Regions from separate parts of the Homo sapiens genome. Here region 2 is linked to region 1. Evidence: promoter capture Hi-C in 16 types of primary human blood cells and fetal thymus (Javierre and others, 2016). All regions are on one chromosome and are shown on one strand. The core of a region is centred on a gene start or on the middle of the fragment in contact, and the rest is flanking DNA. Distances in the headings are between cores, read along the strand shown. Region 1 holds the start of MARCHF6 (membrane associated ring-CH-type finger 6). Region 2 overlaps MTRR (5-methyltetrahydrofolate-homocysteine methyltransferase reductase).

What was found. Contacts are between HindIII fragments. The CHiCAGO score rates a contact against its expected background, and 5 or more counts as called.
Region 2: a contact is called between a fragment that was not itself captured here and the fragment with the promoter of MARCHF6 in region 1, in 12 of 17 cell types (total CD8 T cells, total CD4 T cells, activated CD4 T cells and 9 more). The highest score is 11.2, in total CD8 T cells.

Annotation. Positions count from the first base shown.
Region 1 is chr5:10,351,160-10,356,146 of GRCh38, forward strand. MARCHF6 (membrane associated ring-CH-type finger 6) reads left to right here and starts at 2,536. Exons shown (of 26, transcript NM_005885.4): 1 at 2,536-2,758. The coding sequence starts at 2,740. MARCHF6-DT (MARCHF6 divergent transcript) reads right to left here and starts at 2,898. Exons shown (of 3, transcript NR_183261.1): 1 at 2,813-2,898; 2 at 379-614. RefSeq lists enhancers at 2,095-2,354, 3,201-3,772 and silencers at 2,495-2,634, 2,675-3,144. The HindIII fragment of the contact is 4,878 bases long and covers 1-3,943 here.
Region 2 is chr5:7,877,633-7,882,836 of GRCh38, forward strand. MTRR (5-methyltetrahydrofolate-homocysteine methyltransferase reductase) reads left to right here. Exons shown (of 15, transcript NM_002454.3): 5 at 312-690. Among named protein-coding and RNA genes, the nearest start is that of MTRR, 11 kb to the left of the region's middle. The HindIII fragment of the contact is 2,641 bases long and covers 1,472-4,112 here.

The DNA.
Region 1 (4,987 bases), core at 1,286-3,785:
TGGGAGGATCACTTAAGCCAGGGTGGTGGACTGTTGCAATGAGCCAAGATCATGCCACTGCACTCCAGCCTCGGTAACAATGTTTCAAAAAAAAAAAAAGTATTTTTCTTGATTGGACAATGAGAATTCTAATTGTAATGGATATCTATTGTTTGGTCCTCCCCCTTCTTGTGGGAAACGGTCTTTCTCTACTTCCACAAGGTAGTGTACATTGTTCTTACCTGAAATGGCAGTTACAAGAACATGACAATGTCCATGTTCTTAAAGATCCTAGATCTTTGGCACAATCATTTGATTCACGGACAGGCAACTAGCTGGACCAATGAACTAGCCTTCCCTGAGAATTTTTAACTTGGGACTAGAGATCATCATCCTTACCTCGCCTGTCTGATGATGAGGCAGAAGATGAAATGTTGGGAGCTGTCAGTGGCCTTGTTTCCAGACATATGGAGGAAGCTGGTCTAACAGCATGAAGCCAATGTGCAGAGAGAGTTGCAGAGCTGAGCCATAGGGGCAGAGGCATTCTCGTTCTAGTAGTCCCAGCAGTCCCTCCCCTTCTTGGAGTCTGTCCATATCAACAGTACATTCCTCCCTTCTGCCTAACAGTTGAGTTCCTGTCAATGGCAACCAAGAGAGGTGTGACTGATTCATGTATTCAAAGGGCTGTTGTGAGAACTTGTGCCTGACTCACAGTGGGGACTCAACAAATGTTGGTTTATTACTCTTATATTTAACGCCTAAAGTCTGAATGCGAAAAGGTTAGGGCAATTCCAGAAGGAATTACTATGCAGAAGGGAAAACTGGTTGACAGGTTAACTTTCCTTTGAACATCACAAGGGAAGGCACCTAAATACAAAAGGAAGGCTTCCTCCACGCCCCCCATACACACACATTCCCTTCATCCTAACCTGGCTCTGCAGCTCCGAGGGTCACATACCTGCCCTTGGCACTACTAGTACTTCCTCCAGCAAGTCTCAGTCTTTCTTTCAGAATCCTTCGCCCTTATGCCATGTAACATCTGATCGGCCCGGTCTTTGCCCCTAGTATCAGCAGGCCAATACGTGCTCTGCTACAGGTCTTACAGGGAGGGTGAGCTCTTGGAGTTGGATCAGAAGGAGAGGGGCTGGGGAAAGATCGTCTTCAAATTGTTTCTTTGGCGGTAGTATATATAAACATATTTAGGCAGGGCATAGTGGCACATGTCTGTAACCCCAGCACTTTGGGAGGCCGAAGCGTGAGGATCGCTTAAAGACAGGAGTTGAAAATCATACTGGTCAATATAGTGAGATTGCAGTGAGCCATTATCGCGCCACTGCATTCCTGCCTGGGTGACAGTGCGAGACCCCTTCTCAAAAAAAAAAAAAAAAAAAGAAAGAAAAAAATCATAAGCAAACAACAACAAAAAAACAAATATAAAGAATGGCGGTCTGCTTAATTCTCCGTGCCAGCCCTTGAAATCAGTGGGTATTATTATGTAGAGTTTGAGTTCTTTCCTCCCTTGAGTAACATGAGTGACATCAGTAACATTAGTCAAGCGCTGCTCTTTTTGAAAGACTGTATTTCATTATTTTTATTCTAAACCTTACTCTGTTTGATGAAGATTGGGGGAAGAGCCCTCCCAATTCCACCGCTCACACATAACAGCGGTTGCTAGCATTCTTTATTTGTGCTAGGTCATCTGCATATTGTTTAAACATTTTTCGAGGCTGGAAAGACTGCTCCCACTCAGGCAATTCTGACGTGGCGGCCCTTCTAATTTATATTCTCTAAATAATTCTTCATTTAGAGAAAACAGTCAGGGATTACAGTGAGGGAGGGTGACGTGCTGACGGGGACAGAGCTTGGCTTTTGATCATTCTCCCCTTAGCTCTGCCCAGGCAAGCGTCCCTAACTCAGGGTATCGGAACCGATCTCCCTTAGAGGATTATGTTTCAACCACCAGCCTCAGCGGTTTACTCAAATGTCCTTCCAGCCAAATGCAGAAGTCTCCCTGGGAGTAATTTTGGTGAAGTCAGCTTTTGCCTTTTTCATCACAGGCAGGCTTTAGTAGTTCCTCAAAACGTGCACCACAACTGCCCGGCTGCCAAACAGAAATGCTGATGCCTGGGCCCACTCTAGCCATTTGGCCTCGGCATCACGGTGCGGGAGCGTGGGGCGCAGACTCGCATTGTCACAGGAACCTCCCGGCCTTCCGAAGAGCCCCGCGCCGGGGCCTTTGTCTCGCACGTCGGCTGGGGCGGGAGCTAGGTTCTCGCAGCCTCCTCCCACCGCTCTGCGCCTTCTTTGTCCCTCCAGAAGCCGCCATCAAAGCTCAGCTCCTGATTAGGTTTCGGCCCCGCTGGCCGGCGCAGTCTCGGCGACTACCCCAGGCGGCCTGGCGCACGCGAGGATTCGCCGCGCCCCAGATGCAGGTGCCTCCCCTCCTTAGCCGCCGACCGACAGTGCACGCCGCGGCCGCCGGAAGTGACAGCGCCTGTCGTTGGGGAGCTCCCGCCCCTTCCGCCTCGGCGCCCCGCCCAGGCCTCGCCCCTAGGTGTTCCCGCCCCTCCCCCTCCCGTGTCGCTCGCTTTCTGTCAGCCTCTCTCCCTCTCCCTCTCCCCTCTCCTTCCTCTCGCTTCCTCTCTCGCACCTGAGCGTACGCACCTGCCCGGGCCCGGCTCCCTCCTCCTCTCCCCTCCCTCTTTCCCCGCCCGGCCGCGGGAGCCTCGTGGCTGCGTCACCGCCGCCCCCCCAGACAAGATGGACACCGCGGAGGAAGGTAAGTCGGCGACGCGCGGCGCCCGAGCCCTTGCGTCGGCGCCCGGGTTCGTACCCCGGCCAGGTCCGCGGCGCTCGAGGTGGGCTGCTGGATCGCGGCGGGGCGGACGCCTGGGCCGTTTGTCCACCCGCTGGGCCTCTGGGCCGGGGAGCGGAAGGTGACCCTCTGCGCGCCCCCCGCCGTTTCCCGCCCGCGCCGCCGAGGGGGGCGGGGACCCTGCCGGGCAGGGGCCGGGGCCGGGGTCGGGGCCTCGGGGCTACTGCAGGCCGGCGTGGCCTCCCTTGTCCCCGCCGTCGCGCGCTGGCCCAGAAAAGGGGGCCTCTGTCGCTGCCGTCCGGGGGCGTTTTCCGCACCCTTCCCCCACTGGGTTTTGTCTTTCTTTACGTCCTTCTGCCTATTGCTCGCCAGGCCCTACCCCCTCGCGACAGAACTTCTTTGTTGACTTTGAAACTTCGCGAAAAATACCCCGCCAGATGACGGCCGAGTGGAGTGAGCTGACCCCTGTTGAAAAGCCTGGTCCTCGGCTTGCCTGCCGCTCGAGAATCTGTTTACTAAACGGGGAGGCTCTTTTGTTGCGATCCATTTGGTTTTAAATCCTTGACACCTATAAGCAGGGTTCTGTTTGTTTTGTTTTGCGATTGCTTGTGTTTTGGATACGGTTACATTGAACAAACTGACCCTTGTAAAATGAATACTTAAGATATAAACGTCCACACCTTATGTCTCTTCAAACGCATTTTCTTACCCACTGAAGGTAGTAGATTATTTTTAACCAGCTGTGTTTTTAAATGAGTGGTGAGTTTATAGAGGAAATTACTAAATTTTGCTTTTTTTGATGTTCCGGTTATCGTGCAAATGCTTTTCTACTTTAGGTATATTTATGGGGGTATGAGCGTCTTTCAACCTTATGGGTTGCGATTTTGGCGATTTTAAACGAAAATGAATTATCAAACGCCGTCATGGAGTGCAATAATGAGTGAAAAAAGTTTGATATTATCTATGTAATGAGTTGATAACGACTTATTTTTTTTTAAAGAAGTCTTGCCTTTAATAAATACCTCAACTATAACATGTGGCACTTGATGTACATTCGCGTTCCATCTTCGTAAAAAGCCTGTGGAATAGGTAGGTATTATCTTTTATAGATGTGGAAATGTAGGCTTCGTTATTTTAATAGCTTGTCGAAGCTTTACACAGGTAGTAAGAGGCAGATTTGAACCTAGGCATTCTGATTGCAAGTAATTTCCCTTTCATTATGCCACAGTGTGTTTATTATATACACTGAGTGTAGCTAATCGCCACTGGAGACGCCTTTGGAAAAAATAGTAAAGCGAAACTGCTGAAGGTTGCGAACTATTTCTTTTTGACAGGTGGTCCTTGCGTGTAAATTTCCATCTACATAGGTTTCACATCCTTTTAGATTCAGGTTTTAATGAGTAAATCTAGTAAGGCATGTATTTATCACAGGATAGGTACGGACGTATTACATTCAATTCTCATTCTTTTGGCCTGGGCATTGCTACTTGCATACTTTTATGGTGTGACAGTAATCTGTGGTAATTCAGGAATTGCGCTCGAAGCACGTATGGAATCATGAAATATTTTCACTGTACTTCTAGTGCTTAAATATATTTTTTCTCTTGTAAAATTATAATCAGGATAAGGTATACATAACATTTATTTATTGAACACTGTTGCCTGTTAAAATAACATGTGCTGAAGACTCAACGTGTAGTATGTGCTTTACTAAACACTTTATATACATTTCATTTAATTCTCTCACATCGTTAGGTAGTCGGCATTTTCATTTTACAGATGAGGAAACTGATGGTTAGTATGATTAAGTAACTTGTCCAGGATAATACAGGTAGTAAATGGCAGAGGCAAGATTCAGACTCATGTCTGTCAGAGTCGCACTTAAATTAGATTATTTATTTATGAGTGTATACTACAAGTCCAATGTTGAAATTTATTTTTGTCACTCCCTCTATAGGATGAATCATTTATATAATTTGGTGGAAACTTTATTTTGCTTTATTTTGTTTTATGAAATTATTAGTCATGAAATGCAAGTGAATTTTAGTGCCGTATTCTCATGCCTGCTTTTGCAAAATTCCAGTTTGGAAGTCTTCTGACATTTTTACAATTAAATTTAAGTTGAAATAACACTTAAAGGAAAAGGGAGGGTTATAGAGGATTAAAAATGATATAGCAAAGATGCCAAAAAAC
Region 2 (5,204 bases), core at 1,542-4,041, 2.5 Mb before region 1:
AAGTTTACCAATTCTGGAATATTAGGAGGAATTCTATTCCTGTCATCCTATTACTAGAATATCTTCCTATCCCTCTTCATTTCTTCTACCTTTATACATACTCATGTTTTCAGCTACGGTGCTAATGAACACATAATATATCCTGCTTGTTAAAACTTAATCATGAAGTATTTTTTGTATTCCGAATGGTCTTCATAGTGTTTCTAACAAGTGCATACTTTGCCAAATGGACAGACTGTCATTATCCTGTTCTGTGTTCAGATGGAGAACTTAGGCATTTGTTTTGTTTTTCGTTTGTTTTTACTGTCCAGTTTAGAACTTGTGGTTGAGCCGTGGATTGCTGGACTCTGGCCAGCCCTCAGAAAGCATTTTAGGTCAAGCAGAGGACAAGAGGAGATAAGTGGCGCACTCCCGGTGGCATCACCTGCATCCTCGAGGACAGACCTTGTGAAGTCAGAGCTGCTACACATTGAATCTCAAGTCGAGCTTCTGAGATTCGATGATTCAGGAAGAAAGGATTCTGAGGTTTTGAAGCAAAATGCAGTGAACAGCAACCAATCCAATGTTGTAATTGAAGACTTTGAGTCCTCACTTACCCGTTCGGTACCCCCACTCTCACAAGCCTCTCTGAATATTCCTGGTTTACCCCCAGAATATTTACAGGTACATCTGCAGGAGTCTCTTGGCCAGGTAAGGAAGTTTTTCTTTATGCTATAGATGCTATTTAATCATGGATGTTTGCTTTGGGCTTTTAAATTATTATTACATTAGAAGAGAGGTCAACAAACTATGGCTTACTGGCCCAATGTGGCCCAGAGCCTTTCTTTTGTAAATAGATTTTACTGGAACACAGCCATGCCTATTCATTTAGGTAGTGTCTATGACAGCTTTTGAGCTGCAATAGCAGAGTTAGTGGTTACCACAGGGGCCTGCAATGCCTAAGGCATTTGGCCCCTTCCAGTAAAAGTTTTCCCACCCAGGTATTACAAAAGGTCTTGTATTATTACTTCTGTATTTGAAGAAGTAGATAAGAACTCAGTTTCATCATTATTTTGGAGAACTAACAACTTGGTTTCTCATTTTAGATGAGTCAAACAGAGATGAGTTGTGTGGGCAGTGAGTTGAGTATCACATTGCATAATAGCTAATTTCTCCCCACAGGCAGTGTATGGTACCCTGAAGTTTTTCTAACCTGCTTAAAATAAGTTTCCAGAGCAGGCAGTCTTTGAATGCAGGGCTAAGCCCTCTTTCTGTTGAGTGGCTGTTTGGAGTTCCACATGGACTTTTCTTACAAAAACCACACCCTTACTGCAGCTATTACCAGTTTTAATTTCTTGTTTTTTTTAATGAAGACAGATTTAGACATTTAAGAAATAATTTGGATGCAGCATCTTTCTTGTATATTAGCACTGTTTGTAAACACCTGGTATGATAGCAATTTTTTTTAGCATCTTTTATAATGTCTTTCTAAAGCTTTCATGTAAGTATGATTTTGTGTATAAACAACTATGGGCTATTGTTTTTGCACTTGTACTTCATTATTTTGTGAATTGTTTAAGTGAGATAATTGCAGTAAGTGTATCTCAGTCTGGTTTGGGAACAGACACAACTTATGCCTGGACTGGTGGGAGCAGAGTGCAGTGTTGCACCACAGACAGGATCAGTTCATGGCAGCGGGGATAGAGATTAATCATTAATCTGACTAGGAGTTTTAAATTAGCCGGAAGATCTGTTAAGAGTTTATGGGTTTTTTCCGGGAGGCGGAGGTTGCAGTGAGCCAAGATTGCGCCACTGCACTCCAGCCTGAGCGACAGAGTAAGACTCCGTCTCAAAAAAAAAAAAAAAAAAAAAAAGTTTCTGGGTTTTTTCTTAATAGAAAGTGTCATTAAATAGGCTTGAGTTGTTAATAATGTAGTTAAAAGATTTAACAAATCTGAAGTACTTAAGAGAGACAATATAAATATGAAATAATATACTGAGAGAGTAAAGAATTGGGAAAAAAAGAATGTTTTGTAGGGCATCCTCTTGGGACCATTGCCTTGAGGCACAGAGGGGTTGGAAGCAGGATTGGGCACAGTGAGAAGCTGAGCTGCGATGCAGTCTCAACAAAGGCCTCAGTCAGCTCCTCTCCATATGGTACCTTTCTGCCATGTGGAAGTATTACCTCTAATAACCAGAGGGTCTTCTGGGTTGTGTGGTAGAGCGGCAGGACCTGTTAACGAGCACTGTCACTTGGATCTGCTGTAGAGCCCTCTCCTGCTCTGGGCCCCACGCAAAGCTGGTGGCCTTTTCTGTCACCTGGTATTTGGGTCTCAGCAGTCCTCCCAGGTATGGAATGTGCTACCCACAGATCCTGAAGAGACTTAGCAGTGGTTCTGCTTCTCTCTAGAAGTGAGGTACAAGGTGCACTAGTGTGGCCTTCACTTGGGAGGGGATGTCCTGACGTGCACCAAACTGTTAGAACCCTAAAAATTGTGCTGGCACTGCAGGCCCTTTAATTGCATAGGGCATGGGTCTTACCAAAGACCGCACTGTCCTGGCTACTCCTCGTTGCTCATTCAGTCTGATAGCACGATGCCCCTGATAGAGTAGGCTAGTGTGGTGCTTTGCAGGTGTTCCACATTTATTCAGACTCTTATAACAGCAGGCAGGACTTATGATAGCCCTGGGGCATAATTGTAAATTTATACATTGTTCCAGCGCAAAGTGAACTGTTTCTGATCCTCTTTAGTGATAGGGTTGGGAAGGAGCACTTTGACTAAATCATTGTCCGTGTACCTGAGGCCATGCTAGTCTACTTTGTTAAGGAAAACCAGCTTGCACGGAGGTTACAGTGGACCTGTTTCTTGTTTGAGTTTCCAGTAGTTCAGTGTCATCCCCCAGGATTTATGTGGTTTTTGCAGTGGTCAAACTGGTGAATTAAATGGAGATACGATAGAGACCATCCCCTGTGTCCTCCAGCTTTTTAAGGATGTCATTTCTCTCAGGATGCTATTTTGTTTCTCTTGTTCTATCTTGGTGTTTAGGGAGGAGGATGGCGTCAAATTCAGAGACTTCTTCTTGGCCCTCCCCATGATGATAGATCTTAACGTCATAGGCCAATAATTCGGTGTTGCCCTGTGCCAGCTGCTGAGTGGCCACTGGAGGTCCTGGGCCAGGACGCCATTTACCGCCTGGCCCCCATGTGCCTTGCTGTCATAGATGAGCTATGCTGATGCTTTGGGTCCCTGGGTAACAACATTCATTTGAACCCCCTCTTAACAGACCCTGGAATGTTTGCACATTCCCCTTAGCCCAGTGTACATTTCCCCTTTGGGAGAAGGACTGCAGAAGCCATTGTCAAGTACAGTTTCTATAGTGTCTCACAGTCCCTCCTCCTAGGGACCTCTTCTCTCCTACAGTCAGTGGGTTGCAGGTCTGGAAACAGGGCAAAGGATCGTTTTTATTGGAGCAGCGGCCTACAGCTCCTTTTACATGCCTCCTTGATTTCTTTTCATTGTAAGGATTGATCCAGTGCCTTTGTGGGCTGCCCATTTTTTACATCTGTGTTCTGCCCTCCTCAATTTAGGACCTCAGCTGTGTTGTGTGCATTCTCTCCTAGCTCCTGTGGGGGCATAGTGCTCTGTCGTATACTTTCTTAGGGGTTAGTCCCTTACCTTCCTTAGCTAGCCCAGTGCTTTAGTGGCCGAGTGTGTCGCAACAACCCCAGTTATTGGTCTAGCAACCAGAAGAGGGGATGGGGTGTGGTAGTGGGGGTACAGGCATGTGCTGTGGGCAGAGGTCCTTACACCATCCAGATGCGAGAAGGGAGTTCTTACTCTTCATGGGAGGGACTGGCCACATCTGCAGGCTCAAAGAGTTCAAGGGAATCTGGGTAGGAAGATTTTTAAGGGAATCTGGGTAGTCAAGATTTTTAAGGCGTTCTGGGTAGTCAAGATTTTTAAGGGAATCTGAGTATTCAAGATTTTTTTTCCCAGTTAGTCCTTGGCTTTCTCTGCCTTCACTGTCATGGGCTGCATGAGATGACTGTGTCTTTCTAAGCTCCTGAGGATGTCCCCTGGCTTAGTTCTATTTTAGTTTTACTTAGTTCTTAATTGGTGATTTGTCCTTTAAGCTTTTTGCATTTTTTTTCAAGTGCGAGTGAATTTTAGCAGTAGCCCCCCAAGTCCCACCAGTCTTCTCTTCTGCTGTTTCTCTCTAGTTCTCAAGCACCTGATGGATCTTGCAAGGTGATGCATTTGCTTCCACTGGCACTCCCTGCTACTTACGGTTGCATTGTTGCTGTGTGCCAGTGCCGTCTGTCTGCTCTCTCACTGGTGTGGTGTTCTCATTGTCAAACAGGCAGATGATCCAGCTCTAGACTCCATTTTAGCATCTTTCCCAGGCTACCCTGGCACTGACTGTCACAGGCTGGTTCCCAGGAGTCAAACAATGAGATGTTTTTAGGGCATCCTCTTGACAGCATCATCTTTGGGCATGGAGGGATGGAAGCAGGATTGGGCACAGTGAGAAGCTGAGCTGCTGTGCAGTCTCAGCAAAGGCCTCAGCCAATCCCACAGGGTTCTCTGGAGCTGGTGGGTCTTCAGAGTTGTCCTGAGTTGGAACGAAGAGGCTGGACCTTTGTAGTCTTTGATGAGACATTGGATGTGGGTTGCCTCTGAAAGGAGGTGTGGGCAGGGGTAAGGTGTGACCTAAGAATGCTGAAGTGTTTCTTTCAGGTGGCAGAGGTAGTCATTGTCAGCACTGCCATAGCCTTTGCAGAAGGCAGTCTTCTTAGGGGTACATCTCAGTACCCCCACATTATGGCTCCCAGACACCCAGAACTGACCTTCATCCCAGCTTTCCCATATAGCCACTTATCCACAGTTAATTGACTAGTACTGTTAAAATATTTTGTTTTTAAACTTAGGAATATAGAAAAGGAGTAGGGAGTATTATAAAGAACTGGGATTTTTTGCAGTTTTCCAAGACCTACTGTGTCCAGTACAGGAGCTGCTGGCCACATATAGCTACTCAAATTTAAATTAATGAACATTTGTTAAGATTAATAATTAGTTTCTTAGTGACACTACCTGTATTTCACCAGCCATATTTCAGCAGCCATATGAACAGCATTGCCCCACACTAGGGGGTTCCTGTGACCATCTACACACATGTTGCATTCTTAAACATCTGTCACATTCTTCAAGATCTCTCCTTCCTGA